Regions from separate parts of the Homo sapiens genome. Here regions 2, 3, 4, 5, 6 and 7 are each linked to region 1. The links are contacts of gene promoters, found by promoter capture Hi-C in blood cells and fetal thymus (Javierre and others, 2016). All regions are on one chromosome and are shown on one strand. The core of a region is centred on a gene start or on the middle of the fragment in contact, and the rest is flanking DNA. Distances in the headings are between cores, read along the strand shown. Region 1 holds the start of SRP68 (signal recognition particle 68). Region 2 overlaps LOC105371896 (a long non-coding RNA gene). Region 3 overlaps UBALD2 (UBA like domain containing 2). Region 4 has its middle 4.8 kb from the start of WBP2. Region 5 overlaps FBF1 (Fas binding factor 1). Region 6 holds the start of TRIM47 (tripartite motif containing 47). Region 7 overlaps MRPL38 (mitochondrial ribosomal protein L38).

Evidence for each region. The method cuts DNA at HindIII sites, captures the fragments that hold promoters and counts their contacts. A CHiCAGO score of 5 or more calls a contact.
Region 2: a fragment that was not itself captured here is called in contact with the fragment with the promoter of SRP68 in region 1 in 1 of 17 cell types (endothelial precursors); the score reaches 5.2 in endothelial precursors.
Region 3: a fragment that was not itself captured here is called in contact with the fragment with the promoter of SRP68 in region 1 in 6 of 17 cell types (endothelial precursors, M1 macrophages, fetal thymus and 3 more); the score reaches 6.0 in endothelial precursors.
Region 4: a fragment that was not itself captured here is called in contact with the fragment with the promoter of SRP68 in region 1 in 1 of 17 cell types (endothelial precursors); the score reaches 5.5 in endothelial precursors.
Region 5: a fragment that was not itself captured here is called in contact with the fragment with the promoter of SRP68 in region 1 in 3 of 17 cell types (endothelial precursors, erythroblasts and M1 macrophages); the score reaches 7.4 in endothelial precursors.
Region 6: the fragment with the promoter of TRIM47 here is called in contact with the fragment with the promoter of SRP68 in region 1 in 9 of 17 cell types (fetal thymus, non-activated CD4 T cells, erythroblasts and 6 more); the score reaches 10.4 in fetal thymus.
Region 7: a fragment that was not itself captured here is called in contact with the fragment with the promoter of SRP68 in region 1 in 1 of 17 cell types (endothelial precursors); the score reaches 6.5 in endothelial precursors.

Annotation. Positions count from the first base shown.
Region 1 is chr17:76,071,085-76,073,784 of GRCh38, forward strand. SRP68 (signal recognition particle 68) reads right to left here and starts at 1,433. Exons shown (of 16, transcript NM_014230.4): 1 at 1,224-1,433. The coding sequence starts at 1,407. It also overlaps a transcript of GALR2 not described here. RefSeq lists enhancers at 720-1,547, 1,546-1,595, 1,548-2,375. The HindIII fragment of the contact is 7,541 bases long and covers 759-2,700 here.
Region 2 is chr17:76,241,964-76,244,663 of GRCh38, forward strand. LOC105371896 (a long non-coding RNA gene) reads right to left here. Exons shown (of 6, transcript XR_007065913.1): 6 at 1-2,531. Among named protein-coding and RNA genes, the nearest start is that of RNF157, 2.8 kb to the left of the region's middle. The HindIII fragment of the contact is 3,783 bases long and covers 1-2,700 here.
Region 3 is chr17:76,269,744-76,272,443 of GRCh38, forward strand. It overlaps UBALD2 (UBA like domain containing 2), which reads left to right. Exons shown (of 3, transcript NM_182565.4): 3 at 451-1,555. The coding sequence ends at 762. Among named protein-coding and RNA genes, the nearest start is that of UBALD2, 5.7 kb to the left of the region's middle. RefSeq lists enhancers at 318-507, 1,388-1,607, 2,195-2,700, 2,548-2,597 and a silencer at 2,298-2,397. The HindIII fragment of the contact is 5,749 bases long and covers 1-2,700 here.
Region 4 is chr17:75,858,751-75,861,450 of GRCh38, forward strand. No RefSeq gene overlaps it. Among named protein-coding and RNA genes, the nearest start is that of WBP2, 4.8 kb to the left of the region's middle. The HindIII fragment of the contact is 2,337 bases long and covers 138-2,474 here.
Region 5 is chr17:75,927,924-75,930,623 of GRCh38, forward strand. FBF1 (Fas binding factor 1) reads right to left here. Exons shown (of 30, transcript NM_001319193.2): 7 at 2,074-2,124; 8 at 153-270. Among named protein-coding and RNA genes, the nearest start is that of FBF1, 12 kb to the right of the region's middle. The HindIII fragment of the contact is 1,427 bases long and covers 573-1,999 here.
Region 6 is chr17:75,877,331-75,880,030 of GRCh38, forward strand. It overlaps TRIM47 (tripartite motif containing 47), which reads right to left and starts at 1,251. Exons shown (of 6, transcript NM_033452.3): 1 at 544-1,251. The coding sequence starts at 1,218. It also overlaps a transcript of TRIM65 not described here. RefSeq lists enhancers at 1-625, 626-1,541 and silencers at 386-565, 576-955, 1,086-1,435. The HindIII fragment of the contact is 18,500 bases long and covers 1-2,700 here.
Region 7 is chr17:75,899,561-75,902,260 of GRCh38, forward strand. It overlaps MRPL38 (mitochondrial ribosomal protein L38), which reads right to left. Exons shown (of 9, transcript NM_032478.4): 3 at 2,460-2,594; 4 at 2,152-2,360; 5 at 1,641-1,713; 6 at 1,422-1,467; 7 at 1-114. Among named protein-coding and RNA genes, the nearest start is that of TRIM65, 4.0 kb to the left of the region's middle. The HindIII fragment of the contact is 3,542 bases long and covers 1-2,700 here.

The DNA.
Region 1 (2,700 bases), core at 183-2,682:
AATTGGGGTGCTTCACACCAATTAACACCTAGACCCCACATTTTATTCATTCAGATTCAGGTTATAAATGACATGTACTAAGCCTCCATTTGCATAATCTCCAACACCTGCCAAATCTAACTTTCCTTAACAGCTGTGATGCTTAGAGAGTCTATGATTAGCACATGTCAACCAAGCTAGGCTACAGTTTGCATAAAAGTATTAAGGTTTTTCTTTCAAAAGAAGAATGGCCAGATTCTCCTTTTAATAATCTTAAAATATTTAAGATTATGTACTAATCTTTAGAAAGTCCAATGACCTTCATCTATATAGGTATAGTTTTAATGTTTCCTCAACACTTCTCTAGAGACATATTTTAAAATAGTGAACGCTAAAAGGACTCTTTAAATTACTAAAACGGGACAAAGAGATATAAAGGTCTCAGTAAAATCAGGGCTCGCTAGCGTCTACTTGGAACTATTACCAGTAATTCAAAATATTTAACTCCAAGCGCCTGAGAACTTTAAGCACATTAAGATGTCAAGTTGAATGTGTTATTTCAGAAACTCGCCTACGTTTTCTCCATTTGTTATTCATTTCAAAAGGTCACAAACTAGTACCACAAGCACTTGGTTGAGATACACACTGATGGAAACTAGAAACCGATTCCTCCAGCTTATATGAATGACTGTCAGCAAGATAAAATGCCTACAGACCGATCAGAAAAAAATGACACAATCGATATTAACTACGGTAACTTACAATCAAAATGGGCAACAAGCTTTTCCTGAGTCAATCTTTACCTCCACTTTCAAAGTATCGAGCTGTAGGTTTTACTACTCAGTCTATGACGACTGTCAGACAAGAGTATTAAGCCAAATGTCAAGACTGCAGTTTCCTCTCCCCAGTTCAGTGGCTCAAGGTGCCAAAGCAAGGTGCTCAAGGTGTCACTTGGTCACAAGCCCTCCAACTGGACAACTGCGGGGCACCAGGGGAAACCTGCCTGATATCCCAGTGCCACTGGAAGAAACGGACCTAGCCAGGACGGCGAGGGGGACACGAGGAAAGACTAGTCGAGAGACAGACCCCCCCCGGAATTCTGAGCACCAAAAGGTAAGGGCGAGAGAAACTGCAACCCTCGGCCTCTCCTGCCAGGACTTGTCGGGACCCGCCGCCTCTCCCGCCCCCAGCCCTCCAGTTCGACACGTAATCATTGCGAGTTAGGCCCGATTACTCTAGGATACTCTCCAAACTCAGGCTATCCCCAAATTCTTTGTTTGCCTTCGATCCGGCCGAAGGGCGTTCGTTTTCTTTATTTTCTTCCCCTCCGGCACCACGTCCACCGCCGCTACCGCCGCCGCCACTGCCACCGCCGCCGCCACTGCCGCCGCCGCCGCCGCCGCCTGGGACCTGCTTCTCAGCAGCCATCTTGCCCCTGCGCCGCAGAGCAAGACGGGATAGGGGAGGCGGGACGACCTGGGCGGGTGAGAGCTGGACCTGCCTGGCCGGGCTGATGGGATAGCGGCGGACTCCGCCGCCGTCGGCCCTTGCTGCAGCAGGGCGCCATGTGCTGGAGCGCGCCTGCGCGAGGGATCCTGTCATCCCGGGTCCGGAATTGTGGCTGGCTAGGTGGGGACTTGAGGCCGCAGTGAGACCGTGGCTGCTGAGATCTCAGGGGGCAGTCCCACCTCCCACCCACTAAGGGCGGAGAACCGGAGGTGGACCCCAGGTCCTGCATCCTGGACTGGGGATCTGGTTCACGTCCTGCCCAGCAGAAAGCAGGAGACCAAAGATACTGGATTTCGGGGTGTCTGCATCCCCAGGGACTCAAGAGATGGGGTCCTCCCTACCGGAACGGGACACCCCGTCCGTAAGGGACCCGCCTCTGCCTGCCCTTTCCTCTGAGGCTGGCCGTAAGAACGCCAAGCCGGAGGAAGCGCTGCGCAGTCAGCAGACGGTGTCCTAACGGGGTGACTTTCTCAGACCGCTTGGGGCCGTGGACCACTGCACTTTGGGGCCGTCAGTCCAAAGAGGGAGAAGTGTTGAGACATGGGAAAATATGAATTTTTGCTTTGCACCTTCTAGAGTCTGAGACCTGGGATTCCAATCCCCGCTCCGTCATTAGCGGCAGGGACATGTTGGGCACGTAACTTAATCTCCCTGTAAATCTGTTCCTTCATCTATGAAATGGGGATAACCAATTTAAGTGGTTGTTAGGAAGATTAAATGACGGATTTTTTTTTTTTTTTTAGATAGAGTTTCGCTCTTGTTGCCCAGGCTGGAGTGCAATGGTGTGATCTCGGCTCACTGCAACCTCTGCCTCCTGGGTTCAAGCCATTCTCCTGCCTCAGCCTCCCGAGTAGCTGGGATTACAGGCGCCTGCCACCACGTCCCGCTAATTTTTGTATTTTTAGTGGAGACGGGGTTTCACCATGTTGGTCAGGATGGTCTCGATCTCCTGACCTCGTGATCCGCCCGCCTCGGCCTCCCAAAGTGCTGGGATTACAGGCGTGAACCACCGCGCCCGGCCCTGAACTCTATTTTGAATTTCCTCAAGGTATACGGAATAAGGTCAGGAGAAAAAGAATAAGGATCTGATGCATTCAGATTTAACTAACTCTCCCATACATCTCATTCCTTTCTCAGCAGATCCCTCTTAGAAGGAAGTGTTACCATTTCCTTGTTACAGCTGAGGAAACTGAGGCATGGAGCCAAAGACAG
Region 2 (2,700 bases), core at 33-2,532, 170 kb after region 1:
AGGGTCCTCAGGATGGTGGGAACACATCCCTGTCATTTATATTGGCTGCTGCTAACGAAGGCTTGGGTTACAGGGCAAGTCCCTGCCCCGGCAGCTTCTCCCAAGCACCAGAGCTCTCTGGCAGAGTCCCTGGTCCTAACTACTCCAGGGCTTTCAGTCATCCCTGTGGGAGGGAACTGGTGTCCTCCTCCATACTCCTTTCAGCACACACAGGCCCTACCTTGTAACTGCTGGGTAAAGGTAAAATGCAAATAAGAATCTAGAACCACCTCAAAACACAAGGCCTTCGACACATCACAGAGTAAAATGTTGCCTTATGCTCCTCGGCTCTGTTCAGAAGCCTTGGTTCTTCCTGCCCTCGGCATTTTGTAAACGGGACATCCCTTCCCTTTGTGGGTTTATCCATGTCTGAGAGTTTCTTCTGCTTAGCCAGGGCCAGGCAGGGATGTGGCTTAGTCAAGCAGCCCAGTCCTGTTGCTTATGGGGTGTCTCTTCTGGTCCCACCTTGGCCTGACCCTGGGAAGCCAGCTTCTCCATCTTGAATAATACTCCCCAAGCCTAGAAGTTGGTTCCTCCTCCCACGAAGGAGTCATGAGTCCAATGCTTAGAATAGTAAAGAAAAACAAGGCATAGCACAATAAAATTAGTGGATATTTATGGAACACTCTATGTGCCAGGCTGTTTTAAACACTTCACACGTATTAAAGCATTCAACCCTCCCAACAACCCTATCAAATACATGCTATTTACACCCCGATTTTACAGTCGAAGAGAATGAGGCACAGAAAGAGCACTAGACTTTGAGTTGGACAAATCAAACCCCTAAGCAGCTATGTAACTTTGACTTAAGCCCTTAGAAACGGTCTCCGTTTCCTCCTCTGAAAATAGCCCAGTCTCCAATGGTTATTGCAAAGATGCAATAAGTGAATCAAGACTCTTTTGTTTTGTTTTGTTTTTGAGACAGAGCCTCACTCTGCTGCCTAGGTTGGAGTGCAATGGTGTGATCTCGGCTCACTGCAACCTCCACCTTCCGGGTTCAAGTGATTCTCCTGCCTCAGCGTCCTGAGTAACTGGGACTACAGGCGCCCGCCACCACGCCCGGCTAACTTTTGTATTTTTAGTAGAGATGGAGTTTCACCATGTTGTCCAGGCTGGTCTCCAACTCCTGACCACAGGTGATCCGCTCGCCTTGGTCTCCCAAAGTGGTGGGATTAAAGGCGTGAGCCACCACACCCAGCCAAGACTCATTTTTAAAAGAATGTTGACCAGAGACAGAAGAGAAACGGATAGAAGGCAGTTTAGAAACTTCTAGATCAAAGAGACTTTTTGTGAATTGAGCTACAGTCCCACAGTCTACAGTGTAATCACCTAGTGTGAACAATTTTGGAAATAGAATCTCAGCCAGTGCCCTGGGCAAAGGCGAGATAAGCAGCTAGACCCTCGGAGCAGCCGACTCTAGAGGGGCTGAGTCCTGCATTCCTCTATGGTTCTTCCCTGGCTCCACTTGGCTCCCTCGCCAAAGATCTGGGCCAGGGAGAGTGCCCGAGGGAGAAGGCAGCTCAGATAGGAGGAAAAATCCAGAAGTGACTGCACCAAGAGAGCCATAAAAATGTTTTTAACTTGAAAAATGGTCTGGGGAGGGGTTGCACAGTGTGCATAGGGAAATCACATGCAAATACCACACGTGCTTTGTGGAAATAGCCTTGTAGCACCCTATCCATTTCCACACTATGGATGCAGCCCTTGGGAGAATCCCAGCAGACAACACAACATCCAAGGGTCTCAGCGGTTTTCTCTAAACATCCCTGGAAGGCAAGGGGCAAAGCCAGGTATTTCTATCACATTGAAGCTCTTCTTCTGCAACTTGGGTCTAAGGGAGAAAGGAGAAGGGTGGGGGAAGTACGGGGACAAGTAATTTTTAGGTGAGCTTGTCCCTTTGGACTTTTCATTTTGTTCATGTTGCTGTCCTGGTTTCAGCCCAGATGTGCCATTTCCACCCTTGTAACACATGCAATGATTAGCTTAGTGCAGGAAGGAGTGAGGGAGCCTGCAGGTGGAAACTGACAGACACAGCCCTGCAGCACAGCATTCCTGAGGCAGCAGGGTTTGGGAGGCAAACCAGTATCTCAGGTGACCTGAAAGAGCTAAGAAAGGTCTCTGATTTTGGGACAGGAAGATGAGAATCTTGGCTGTTCTTAATGAGTACCAGCTCTCTCCAGAAGATAGGGCCCAATCAGCCACACATGGGCCCGATCCCTCTTTTAGTCCTCGACATGTGGCTTCGGTGGATTGAAGCCAAAACCACCAGCGGAGAATGTCACATCCTGCTCCAGATCAGTGGGCTAGGCTAACGTCGACAGAATAGTCTGATCCTAAATGCTTTGGGGCCCTGCAGATGGTTCCTCTGGCAACCTAAGGCTCTCTGTAGAGGAAAATAATCTTGTCCATTAGGAAATCCGCAATCAGGCTTTCATATTTTGCTTTTTGCTGAGTGTGAATTCCTCATTGTTAATTTCGTCCTCCACTCTGGGCTGCCAATAAAGAAGAGTTGTTCAAATGGATGCAGACTCCAGTCCAGTTTGTAGCCTATTAATCTATTTTTCAAGTTAAGACTAAAATGAAAGATGATGTTTACACGGCCCAATGTGTTGGGGATAAGGCGAAGTGAGTGGGGCACCCAGAATGTCAACTTTAAGTTCT
Region 3 (2,700 bases), core at 178-2,677, 200 kb after region 1:
TTGGCACAGGAGGGAGAGCCTCCCCGCTGGCCGCTCTCCCTTGCCTAGCAGCCTGGGAGCATCTGAGGGTGGCTGGTGGGGCAGTCAGCTGGTCTCCCTGCCCAGGGAAGGTGCGGAACAGTGGTGTCCTGGGCTGCCCCCTTGCCCTTTCACTTTAATCTGACACCTTAGCTCCTGGGTGCAATTAACCATTTACTTTGAATGCTCCTCGGGGTGTCATTTCCAGGCCTCATGAAACCCCGTTGGTTTTGATAAGGTTCTTGGGTTTTGTCCTTGTTTTCTGTTTGTATTGCCTCGGGGAGAGGGCACTTTTGTCCTGTGGAAGCTGCTTGTGCGAAAATGAATGAAGCTGAAAAATGGGAGTAAAGGAGCGGCTGGCCTGGGTAAGCCCCATCCAGTGGCTCGGGGACCCCCGAGGCAGCCTCCCCACACCCGTGTTCTCTCCCGCAGATGTGCACTCCCAGCAACACCCCTGCCACGCCGCCCAACTTCCCCGATGCGCTGGCCATGTTCTCCAAGCTCCGCGCCTCCGAGGGCCTGCAGAGCAGCAACAGCCCCATGACAGCCGCAGCCTGCTCCCCACCTGCAAACTTCAGCCCCTTCTGGGCCTCGTCCCCGCCCAGCCACCAGGCGCCCTGGATCCCGCCCTCCTCCCCCACCACCTTCCACCACCTCCACCGCCCACAGCCCACGTGGCCCCCAGGAGCACAGCAGGGGGGCGCCCAGCAGAAAGCCATGGCGGCCATGGACGGCCAGAGATGAGACTGGACGCCGCCGGGCGCTGGGCTGGAGCTGGGGGCAGCCCAGGGTTGTGGGGACACAGGAGGGCCAGGGAGGGGGGAGCCGGGGAGGGCAGGGGGTTTCCCGAAGATCGCACTGGAAGATTTTATAAAAGAATTTTTGTGGGTCGGGGGGACAGTAAACTTCCTGGGCCACGTGGGTCCTTCAGGAGTTTTTCAGGCAAGTTTTTCCTCTGTTTTTAATATATAACTATAATATATATGAATAGATAAATATAACTAATGTGCGTGAGAATGGGCCTGGCACACCTGGGGTGCTCGGGGGTAGGGCTGCCATGCTGCAGAGCTGATGGAGTGATGTTGTGGGCACAAGGCATCTGTCAGCTGCCTCCTTTAACAGCCATGCCTTCTGGAATCTGGAAGAGGACACCACTCCTGCAGTCACTGGGCAGCCACATAGCAGCTGCAGGTCCCAGGAGGGCCTGAGGTCAAAGCTGTGGAAGGCCCTCTTGGTATCAGGGCTCTCTCCCCATGGCCTCTTCCCCACCTCTGATTGCTGGTTGTGGCCCCATAGCTCATCACCCCTGTCTCCTGCTGAATGTGCAGGGCTGATGTGGCACTGAGGAGCTGACTTTGGTCAAAGGCCAGGCTCTGCCCAGCAGGGGACTTGACTGCCCTGGGCGCCCTGCCCCTCCCGCTGCGTGTCCAGGTCCAAAGTGGAGAGCCTGCCTTTGGGTTTAGTTCCCGAATCAGAATCCCATCTCACCAGGGCGAAATTTTAATTTAAAAACTTAAAAAGAGACTTTTCTAACTTCCCTGGTTTGCGGTGCTTTTATTTCCGTTGGTGGGAAAAGCGGTCTCCTCAGAAGAGGGGTGGTGGGGGTCCCTTGCCACTGGGCTGGTCTGGATGTTTTTGCTGTGGGATGGTCACACCAGGGGCTCTGACAGCAAGGTCCAGGTTGGTGTGGGGAGGAGAGAGGGGCCGGGGTCCGTCCTGAGTTTCTGTGACCTTCCCTTCTTGGCCCCATCGGTGTAGCCCCCACCCACAGAGCCCTAGTGAGAAGAGCTGGAAGCCATTTTCATCTACAGTGGGGAGAGCTTCCTTCTAGCTGGGGGCCTCCTGATGGCCCCCCCAGGCCCTCCCAGGAAGCATCTTCCAGCTGGGCTCATCTCCGATACTCCTCTCCTCAGCTTCCCGGGGGCAGTATGTCCCTTTGGGTCATGGCCTGTGGAGTGGCCATGACCCAAAGTTCAATTAAGGCTGGCGGGTCCCCAGAGGGGCCTGCTTCCATTCCCCCTTCCCCGCAGCCCTGCAGGCGTCAGCATGGGGCGAGGTTACCAGTTCCTGACCCAGCAGCTCGTCCTCAGGTGGTCCTGCTGCTCGGGAGGTCAGCTGCGTGGGGAGCCTGTCCACCTGGCTGATGGGGGTGATGGCCGCGTGGCTGGGATTCCTCCTCCAGCCCTGCCCTTCACCGCCATACAGTCTGGGCAGCCCCTTCCTGTCCCGTCCTCCTGCCTCGCCCTCTGCTGGGGTCTACGGGGCCCAAGTCTTGCTGGAACACAGGCAGGACAAGGGTTCTGGAGGTTCAGGCCGGAAGTGAAATAAAAGTCGAGAGGGGCCGGGCCCGGCACCCACCGCATCCTGCCTCCGGGCCTCCTCGGGCCCCTCACACGGTGGGGCAGCCCCTCCTCCAGTGGAGCGGAACGGTGGGCCCCGCTGCCCCTCCACCCCTGCGTGTGACACGGACGTGCTTGGAAGCTGGGTTCGTCCTTTCAGTTTTGTTTCCTGGTTGGAAACCCCTGAGACTCCTCCCCCTCCCCCCGCCCCTGCCCACCTGTGCTTTCCCAGGCTGGAAGGGGCAGCCCCTCTCAGCACGTGGGTGGTTAGGCTGTGACGTCCCCAGGCCTCCTGGGCCTGCACCGGGGTCCACCCAGGTGTGGGCCATGCCCAGGTGCGGGA
Region 4 (2,700 bases), core at 56-2,555, 210 kb before region 1:
GGGCAACGAGAGGAAAGCTCTAACTCAAAAAAAAAAAACAACCCCACAATTATTCATTCACAATACTGTGGCTACAGTGAGGCCTCCTGACAGGAGGGGAAATGACAAGAAGAGGAAGTTGCAGTGCAGAGATAACAAGCTTGACCAGCTCCGGCTACAATGTCCAGAATTTCTAAGTTTTACAAAAACATATGACCATGTGAACACACTTCCTGGGCGGCTCCCATGACTTTGGGGCTGGAACGTACCAGAACTCAAAACTCAAACCGAAGACTTCAACAATGGTTTATTGCTGAACCAGGTGAGCAGCAGGAGGCTCCCCTGGGCCCAGGTCTCAGTACTCAGACCTCTCCTCTGGCCTCATACTCCTGTCTGCCTGTCTCCAGATCTCTTTTTCACTGCAGTATGATGCTCATATTCTCCACACTGGAGCACATCTTAGCGGTGCGCTAAGGAGGAGTGCAGGTTGGCCTCAGATACCAGCAGGCAAGGTCTGGGGCAGCTGAGCCCCTGAACTGGTCACCTGTTTTTTCTGTTTATAATTTTATTTATTATTTATGTATTTATTTTTGATACAGGGTCTTGCCCGTCTCCTGGGGTGGAGTGCATTGACATGATCTCTGCTCACTGCAGCCTCCGCCTCCCGGGTTCAAGCAATTCTCATGCCTCAGCCTCCAGAGTAGCTGGGACTACAGAATCGTGCCACCACGCCCAGCTAATCTTTGTATTTTTAGTAGAGATGGGGTTTCACCATGTTGGCCAAGCTGGTCTCAAATTCCTGACCTCAAGTCATCCGCCCACCTAACACTCCCGAAAGTGTTAGGATTACAGGTATGAGCCACCGCCCCCGCCTGGTCGCCTCTTGACTCCCAATAAGATGAATCTGTTTGCCCCAGTGAGCCAAATAAATACCATTTTCACTGAACAAATCATTTTCTGTGTGTGCCATGACATAAAAGAGGTTGGCAGGCCCGTAGAGGTGGCTCATGCCTGTAATCCCAGCATTTTGGAAGACTGAGGCAGGAGGATTGCTTCAGCCCAGGAGTTTAAGACCATCCTGGGCAACATAGTGAGACCCTCCCTCTAAAAATTTAAAAAAAAAAAAAAAAAAAAAGGTTGGCAGCATTTACCAAACGGTGGCTGTTTTTCCTTACCTTGACCCACAGTAAAAATATATAGGGCTTGAGCCCAGGAGTTTGAGACCAGCCTGGGTGACAGAGCGAGACCCTGTCTTACATTGTCACTCAGGCTGGAGTGGTGCAGTCATGGCTTACTGCACCTTCAACCTCCCGGGCTCAAGCAATCTTTTTACGTCAGCCTCCTAAGTAGCTGGGACTACAAGTGCACATCACCATGCCTGGCTAGTTTAAAAAATTTTTTTGGTAGAGATGGGGTTCCATTATGTTGCCCAGGATGGTCTTGAACTCCTGGCATCAAGCAGTGGTCCTGCCTCAGCCTCCCAAGTAGCTGAGAGTACAGGCCCTGCCACCACCACATGCTGCTTAATTTGTATTTTGTAGTGGGATATATTCTGAAATTTTCTGTTTTATTTTGTCATCTTAAAAAATTGCTGCAAGCAGCCGGGCGCAGTTGCTGACGCCTGTAAATCCAGCACTTTGGGAGGCCGAGGCAGGCAGATCACGAGGTCAGGAGATCAAGACCATCCTGGCTAACACGGTGAAACCCTGTCTCTACTAAAAAAAAAAAATACAAAAAAATTAGCCGGGTGTGGTGGTGAGCACCTGTAGTCCCAGCTACTCAGGAGGCTGAGGCAGGAGAATGGCGTGAACCCAGGAGGCGGAGCTTGCAGTGAGCAGAGATCGAGCCACTGCACTCCAGTCTCGGCGACAGAGTGAGACTCCGTCTCAAAAAAAAAAAAAAAAATTGCTGAAAGGGCCGGGCTCGGTGGCTCGCACCTCTAATCCCAGCACTTTGGGAAGCCGAGGCGGGCAGATCACCTGAGTCAGGAGTTCAAGACCAGCCTGGCCAACATGGTGAAACCCCGTCTCTACTAAAACTACAAAATTAGCCGGGCATGGTGGCGCAAGCCTGTAATCCCAGCTACTCGGGAGGCTGAGGCAGGAGAATAGCTGGAATCTGGAAGACGGAGGTTGCAGTGAGCCGAGATGGCGCCATTGCACTCCAGCCTGGGCAAAAAGAGTGAAACTCAAAAAAAAAAAAAGTGCTGCCGGCGTGGTGGCTCACGGCGGACACTTGAGGTCAGGAGTTTGAGACCAGCCTGGCCAACATGGTGAAGCCCCCATCTCTACTAAAAATACAAAAAGTTAGCCGGGGGTGGTGGAGCGCACCTGTAGTCCCAGCTACTCAGGAGGCTGAGGTGGGAGGATTGCTTCGCTCAGGAGGCAGAGGCTGCAGTGAGCTGAGTTCGCACCATTGCACTCCAGCCTGGGTGACAGAGTGAGACCCCCATCTCAAAAAACAAAACAAAACACCAAAATCAACAATAATACAGAAGCTTGAAAGAGGAGCCCCAGGGTACTAAAACCCAGCCCTCTGAAGAGCGGGCCTGGGCCGGCTGGTGCTGGTGCCCGTGCCTCTGAAGGGAGCTCAGGGTAGCTGGTTCTGCAAGGGTTGGAAAAAGTAGAAACTGGATTCAGCTGCTGCTAAAGAACTGCAGCTGCCCCAATGAAGAAGCTTTCCTGGGTACAATACAGGCAAAAATAGTGAGCAGATGGGAGG
Region 5 (2,700 bases), core at 36-2,535, 140 kb before region 1:
CACGCACAAATGCTCCTTGGCCTCTCCATCCTGTGCAGAGAAAACCCAAGGACATGAACGCTTCCTACTAGCATCTTCCACGTCCTCAAAGTCTCCCTAGCAGATGCGAGGAGCCGTCTCCCATGCACCTTTCTCACTGGCTACTGACCCACCTGCAGGCTTGGGGTGGTTGGGCAGCTCTCCTTTCCCAGGGTCCTTTGCAGCTTTTTTGCTAGGGGCTGAATTAGATTTCTTCAGACCTAAGATATCAGCATCCATGCCGTCCAGGTCCTAGAAAACCAGGGAGGGAGGGCAGAGGACTATGTCTGATAAGGGGCTGAGGACTTCCACCTGAGAGAGATGGGCTGTTGGCACCCCAGGTGTAGAATTGTGAGAAAACAAAGGAAAATGAGAAAACTGTTGAGAAAAACAGTGAGTGAAGAAAGAAAATGGAACTAAAGGTAAGCAGGGGGAGGTGGAATGGAGTCCAGCTCATGGTTCTGGGATGAGAGACTCAAAGTCAGCACCAAAAATTGAGTCAGAGGACTTGTGGGTTATGCCCAGGGATCCTAGGTGGCTGGTCTCGGGAAAAAAGCTTTCTTTTTTTTCTTTTTTTAGACAGGATATTGGCCGGGCGCGGTGGCTCATGCCTAGAATCCCAGCACTTTGGGCCGAGGCAGGTGGATCACCAGGTCAAGAAATCGAGACCATCCTGGCCAACATGATGAAACCCTGTCTCTACAAAAAATACAAAAATTAGTTGGGTGTGGTGGTGCACGCCTGTAATCCCAGCTACTTGGGAGGCTGAGGTAGGAGAATCGCTTGAACCTGGGAGGTGGAGGTTGCAGTGAGCCGAGATCATGCCACTGCACTCCAGCCTAGGCAACAGAGCAAGACTCCGTCTCAAAAAAATAAAAATAAATTAAAAATAAAATAAAATAAAGACAGAGTCTCACTCTGTCACCCAGGCTGGAGTGAAGTGGTGCGATCATAGCTCATTGCAGCCTCCAACTTCTGAGCTCAAGTGATCCACCTGCCATGGCCTCCCAAAGTGCTGGCATTACAGGAGTAAGCCACCATGCCAGACTTTTTTTTTTTTTTTGAAGACAGAGTCTCACTCTGTCACCACCCAGGCTGTAGTGCAGTGGTGTGATCATAGCTCATTGCAGCCTCCAACTCCTAGGCTCAAGCGAGCCTACTGCCTCGGCCTCCCAAAGTTCTGGGATTACAGGTGCCTGGCCTTTGAGGAGAAAGATTTCAAGATGAGATTAAAGAAGCTGAATCTGGACCGGGTGTGGTGCCTCATGCCTGTAATTACAGTATTTTGGGAGGCCAAGGTAAGAGAATCGCTTAAGGCCAGGAGTTTAAGGTTGCAATGAGATCACACCACTGCACTCCAGCCTGGGTGATAGAATGCGATGGTGTCTCTAAAAAAAAACCCAAAAAACAAAAATACACAACAAAAACAAGAGCCCCACAGGGCTGTAACCAAAAACGCGGCTTTGTCCTAGGGACTGTGGCAAAATGGGTTAACTAAAAGGGACACAAAACCCCAAGGGTCAGACAGGAAGGTGCTGCTGGCTGGAAGGAGAGGGAGAACAAGGTGTCTTAGGCCAAGCTAGAGATTATGTCCTTACAAATTATTCAGAATCTGTGCCTTAAAAATCCATTGCAAAGATTGGCGCTGGGCTTGATCTGATGAGAAGACAGCAGTATTGAAGGGGGCTTGGCAGGGGATGTGGAGAGAAATATGGAGAAAGATTAAGAACAAGCATTAGAGGAAAGAGTCTCCCCCTCTGTCTTCTAGGTGGAGGTGAGGGGACCCAGCTAGGTGGGCCTCCGAGTAGAGCTGGCCCCGTTTCCCCAGAGGCCTGTGGCACTCTCCACTCTCTATATACCAGGAACACTGGTTGATACTCAGAAAGGCAAGGAGGCCAACGGCTCACAGACGAGTTCCATGCTTGCACGAGGAAGGGCTCAGAAACACAGGTTGTAAAGGGAGAAATTAGAAGGAGAATGAAGCTTTGGTACAAAATATCATGACCCCACCCCACCCACCCCCAGTTCTAAGAATCGTGCAAGCTGTTTCCTTACCTTCATGGCCTGGAGCAGAGCCTGTGGGTCTGCCTCTGAGATACCTGAAACCTAAGTCCACAATGAGGGTGAGGACACAGATGAGGAGGCACATTAGTCAAGGCCCAATAAAACTCAGGGTCCTGGCCCCTTGCTTCTGTTAGGGCAGACGGCGCGGCAGGAGCAGAGCTTGGCCAATGGAGCTTACACAGGAGGGTGGCTTTGTTCCCCTTGCTTGGGCTTGGCAGTTGTTTGAAGCCAAACCTGCCTGGTTTTAGAGACTCAGAGAGCACTGCCATTCCTACTCCTTCCAACCATAGAGAACTCTTCCATCCAGGACTGAAATTCTGCTACTTCCCACCCATGCCAATGGACAGCTATGGAGTTTATAAGGGGAAAGGAGCAACATCTAAGACTCTAGCAGTTTCAGGGAGCTCTCCTTTCCACTCATCTTACTACAGGAAAGAGGATTCTGCTTTGGGTCCACTCGGCAGCCCTTGGGCATTATTTACAGTGGCTCACGCCTGTAATCCCAGCACTTTGGGAGGCCGAGGCGGGTAGATCACTTGAGGTCAGGAGTTTGAGGCCAGCCTGGCCAATGTGGTGAAACCCCGTCTCTACTAAAAATACAAAATTACCTACTAAAAA
Region 6 (2,700 bases), core at 1-2,500, 190 kb before region 1:
CAGAGGCGCCAAGACCGGGCTGGAGGCCAAAGGAAACTGGGGGCGGGAGGTAGAGGCCGCGGCTCACATGCTCCCACCACTGGCCCCCGGAACAGCTGGACAGAGAATCTGTGTGCCCGGTCGCCCTCTGCCGCCCTCCTGCCGCCTGCCACACCCATCGAAAGCTGCTGCCTCAGCCCAGGGCAAATCTGAGCTGAGACCGGCGTGACCCTCCGGGCGGGAGCAGCAGCCACGCTACCGGAACCCCGCGGGCCTAACCCGGCTCCCTCCCGCCTACACCCCCATAGACCCCGGCCCGGCTTCAGGTCCCCTGCCCGCTCTTCGCGTCCTTGTCCTGTTCTCACGTCCCTCCTTCCTCCCTTCCCATCTCCATCACCGCCAGCAGATGACCTTGTCAAGGCTGGAAGGGACCGCAAAGATCCTCAGGTTAGAGGAGGAGATTAAGACCCAACCCGGGAAGACTGGGGGGTCCAAGGTCCTCGGCCCGCTCGCGCGCGGTCGGTCACCAGCCCCGGCTCACCCGAGTGTGCCCCCGGAGCCCACCTCCTGAAGCGCGCGCTCCTGCTCCAGCGGCACCAGCTCGTGGCCGCGGTGCTCCTGTGCGGCGCAGGCCTCGCACAGACACACGCGCTCCGCGCGGCAGTAGCGCTCGAGCGGCCGTAGGTGGCGCGGGCACAGGCTCTCCTCTAGCCGGCGCAGCGGCGGCACCAGGCGGTGTCCGCGGAGGGCGGGGCTGCGCTCGTGCGGGCCCAGGTGCGCGGGGCAAAAGGAGGCGAGGCAGGAGAGGCAGGACAGCGCGGCGGGCAGGGCCGCGCCCTCGGGGCACGCGTCGCAGCGCACTGGCTCTTCGCCCGCGGGCCACGGCTCGGGAGCGCAGGGGGCCGACGGCTCCGGGACACTGGGCAGCGCGCTGGGTGCCGAGGGCTCCGGGGCCAGGGCAGGGGCCGGGCCGGGGCCGGACCCGGGGCCCGAGCCCTGGCGGAGCTGCAGCAGCTCGGACAGCGTGTGGTTCTTGCGGAGCTGAAGGCCGTCGGGGAAGGGCTCCTGGCACAGCGGGCAGCGGGCCGCGCCTCCGGGTCCGCCGGCTCCACTCGCGCCACGATGCGGCCAGAGCGCGCCCAGGCAGGCGAGACAGAAGTTGTGGCCGCAGGGCAGCGTCACCGGCTCCCGGAGTGGCTCTAGGCAGATGGGGCAGCTGAAGGGTCCACTGCCGTCCATGACTCCGCGGCCGCCCAGGGCGCCGCCGATTGTGCTCCGGCCTGGGAGGGACCCGGGCCGTTCGCGCCGCGGCACCTCCCCCTGGGACCTAGGCCAGGGCTCCGGCCCCCGCCCGCCCCCAGCTCGGCCCGCCCCGCAGCACCGCCCGCCTGCGGGCCCGCGGACTCCCAGTCCCCGCCCAGACAACGCAGGGAGGCCTCCGAGCCCGCGCGACCCCCAGGGGAGTCCGCGTGGTCCTAAGGAAGGGCGCTGCTGAAAGGGTGTGAAACTGAGTGAGCGCGGGCGGAGAACGCGAGAGGTACAGTGGAAGGAATGGGAAGGACTCAGCCTCCATCCCTCTGGTCCTTCTGGGCCAGGCCAGCGCTCCGCAGGGGCTGGGCGCGTCTAGCTGTGTCATGCCTGCACCTTTGCGCTCGACCCCTCCCTGGCACCCTTAGCAAAGTTCCTGAGCTGCTGACTGCAGAGAAAAATAACTGCTGATGTACATATGTTTTTGCCCCTTAGCGACTCTTTTTTTTTTTTTTTTTGAGACAGAGTTCCTCTCTTGTCGCCCAGGCTGGAGTGCAGGGGCGCTATCTCGGCTCACTGCAACCTCCGCCTCCCGGATTCAAGTGATTCTCCTGCCTTAGCCTCCCAAGTAGCTGGAATTATAGGCGCTTGCCACCACACCAGGCAAATTTTTGTATTTTTTTGTAGAGACGGAGTTTCACCTTGTCCAGGCTGGTCTTGAACTCGTGACCTCAGGTGATCCACCTGCCTCGGCCTCCCAAAGTGCTGGGATTACAGGCGTGAGCCACAGCGCCCAGCTCCTTTAGCGACTCTTTACCCCAAGTAGGGAACTTGGACTTTTCTAGACCTGAAATGGGAAGTTGACGTCATTCCCTAAGTCCCTTGTCTGAGGAATGTAGTTCTGGCCCCTGGACACTGGGGACACCTGTGGTGGGGTTGGGGGTTCCCCAACTGGAAGTATTTAAAGCTCATCTAATTATGCACTTAAAGTGGTGCGTTTTATTGTATGAGTTATATCTCAATAATGTTAAGTTAAAACACTACACCAGAATGACAACAAAATAAGTAAAGTAGCACTGATTATAACCCAAAGTGTAAAATAAACATCTATGAGTCCATGCCGATATAAATAAATAATAAATTAACAAGCTGGGGAGAACAGACATATTTCGCATTGAAAATTCCAAATAATGTTTTTTTATTTTTATTTTTTTAGATGGAGTTTCGCTCTTGTCGCCCAGGCTGGAGTGCAGTGGCGCAATCTCAGCTCACTGCAACCTCTGTCTCCTGGGTTCAAGCGATTCTCCCTCCTCGGACTCTTGAGTAGCTGGGATTACAGGCGCCCGCCACCACATTTGGCTAATTTTTGTATTTTTAGTAGAGACGGGGTTTCACCATGTTGGCCAAGCTGGTCTCGAACTGCTGACTTCAGGTGATCCACCCGCCTCGGCCTCCCAAAGTGCTGGGATTACA
Region 7 (2,700 bases), core at 46-2,545, 170 kb before region 1:
TGCTTGAAGAGCAGGAAGGCAAGACGGTGGATGCCGGAGCCTCGGGCAGGGAAGGGGGGGAGGTAGGGACACGTCACCTGTCCTTCAGCCACCCGGTTACCCGGGATGTTGGTTCTGGGAGGAGGAAAGTCCCGGTTAATTACCACTCCAGGGAGGCAGCAGGAGTGTCCCCTCAGCTCCATGCACACCCTAGAGGCTGACATGACTCCCTGGGAGGACAGCTCTAAGCATCTCTCTCCTGGGACAGAGGAGGCAGCCAAGCTCTGTGAACGCCGGGACATGCTGCAAATACGGGAAGCGGGCTGGAGGAGCTCCGAGTGGGGGACAGGGCTCCAGAGAGCATCAGCTTGACAGCAAGGCCATGCAGCCGCTTCCAGGCCCCGGGAGCCGGTGGGTCCGCCACAGTCACTGAGGCTAGAAAGCCAGGCCACTTTTGGCTGCTTTTCCCTCTGCGTCCTGAAGTCTCCAGGACCTCGTCAGGGAGTGTGTGCCCAGCCTGGCACAGGGGCGGCCAACGCCTCAGGCACAAATCCCCAGAGGGTCCTGCCGCATAGGCTGGTAACAGTTGAATAAAAATGACGGAAACCAGCCTCCCAGTCACTGTCCCCAGTTAACCAGAAGGCTCAAAGTTGGGGTCACTGGCCTGACCTCTGCCCCCTGGCCTGGTGTTCAGAGCCAAAAGCTACCAAGATGGAAGGCCGCCCAGTCTGGGCCCAGGGAAGGAGCGCCCAGTGGTTCAAGGAGCACCTGGGGGACGCCACAGCTGCTAGGCCTCTCCCGCTCCTTCTCCCACGTGACTGTCACAGTCCACCTCACGCTGAGTAAGGCATGTGGTGCCATTATCCCAGTTTTACAGGTGAAGAAATGAGTTTAGAGACGAAGGGCCCAGGCATGGTGGCTCACGCTTATAATCCTAGCACTTTGGGAGGCGGAGGCGGGCAGATCGCTTGAGCTCAGGAGACCAGCCTGGGCAACATGGTGAAACCCTGTCTCTATAAAAAAATACAAAAATTAGCTGGGTGTAGTGGTTTGCACCTGTAGTCCCAGCTACTCAGGAGACTGAGGTGGGAAGAGCACCTGAGCCCAGGAGTTAGCGGCTGCAATTAGCCATGATTGCACCACTGTACTCCAGCCTGGGGGACAGAGTGAGACCCTGTCTCAAAAAAAAAAAAAAAAAAGAAAAGAAAAGATGAGGAGGCTTGTGGGGACTGACCGAGGCCTACTGCAAACTTTGTCTCCTGTAGCTGTCTTCAAGTAGACACGTGGATCCCAGGGCCCCTAACACCCTCAGGAGGCAGAGGTGGCAGGTGAATTCAAGGTCCCATGGGTAGTCCATGAAACTCAGGAGCAGCTCAGTCCAGGCTCCCAGCTCCTCTTCCCGCCTGGGCAGCACCCCCTACCCCCAGTACTCCAGTACTCACAGCAGCCAGTGGAGGTACTCAGCATCTGGCTCCAGCAGGTGCCCATCTGCACAAAAACACACCTGCTGACCACGGCCCAGCCGACCACGGCCCTGCCACCCCCTCCCTTGTTAGGAGCCAGCGCTGGAGATCTCCACCTGGCCCCTCCCCCAGCCCCCCAGGGCCCTGGCTCATAGGAGGTGAGCGGGGCAGGAGGCCTGGTGAGCCCCAGACACCCACCCAAGCTAGTGAGTAGCAACGTCCACAAGGAGCCCTCTTCTGCCTCATAGGTCACCTCTGGCGCTTGGGCAGCCTGGCAGGGTGAGAAGGAAGCTGTCAGCCCCACCAGGGACAGGCCAGCTGTTGCAGGGAGCCTTGGAGAAAGGGGTGCCCACTCTGACCCAAAAGCCCTTGACAACCCCTGGCACAGGCAGGCAGGCAAAGGGATGCGTAGAGAAGCAGCCCTGCAGAGTTGCCTGTCCAGGCAACAACCACAAAAACGAACATGTGCCAAGGCCGGGCCAGGAGGGCACACCACAGACAGCAGGCTGGTCACAGGAATGTGCTAAGACAGAGCCTCTTTTTCCTTCATTTTGTTCTATTTTCTTTGAAATTGTCATGGTGTCGTCTTCCAGGAAATCAAAGAGACAGAGAACAACAAAATTCCAAACCCAGGAGTGTCTGTGACACTGAGATGGGATGTGTCTGTGTTTGCACAGGGCAGGGAGGAGGGGCACAAGTGAGTGGTTACCTCGGTTGGAGTCACCTCATTGCCACAGTACACAGGCATCAGGTCATCCTCACCCACAGCGTAGGCCACGTGCAGGGGGACTCGGGGCACAAAGGTGGCACCGTGGAACAGGTCTCGGTAGAGGCCGTAATACTCAGCCAGACGCTGCTTGTGGTAGGGGCCACAGGTCCTCTCCCACTCGGCCCGCACGGCATCCAGCGGGACACTGGCTAGACAGGAATAAGGCCAGTTGGGATACGGGGGTGGGGGGGGCAGGGACACACCCTGTACCCCAACTCTGGGATGGCCCCTCCCCTGAGAAGGCTTACCTGTGCGGAGGCGGGCAGCCCGCTCCTCTTCCACATTGGCCCGAAGCTCCTGGATGGCCTGTTTCCGTTCCAGTAGCTGTTGGGTCCGGGAGACTTTGGGTGGAGGCAGCCCAATATCAATCTTCTCTTTGGGATCTGGAGTGGGAAGATGTGTGGGAAAAACAGGGTCATGACTCACTGCAGCCTTAACCTCCCCAACTCAGTCTCCTGAGTAGCTGGGGCTACAAGTGTACACCATCTC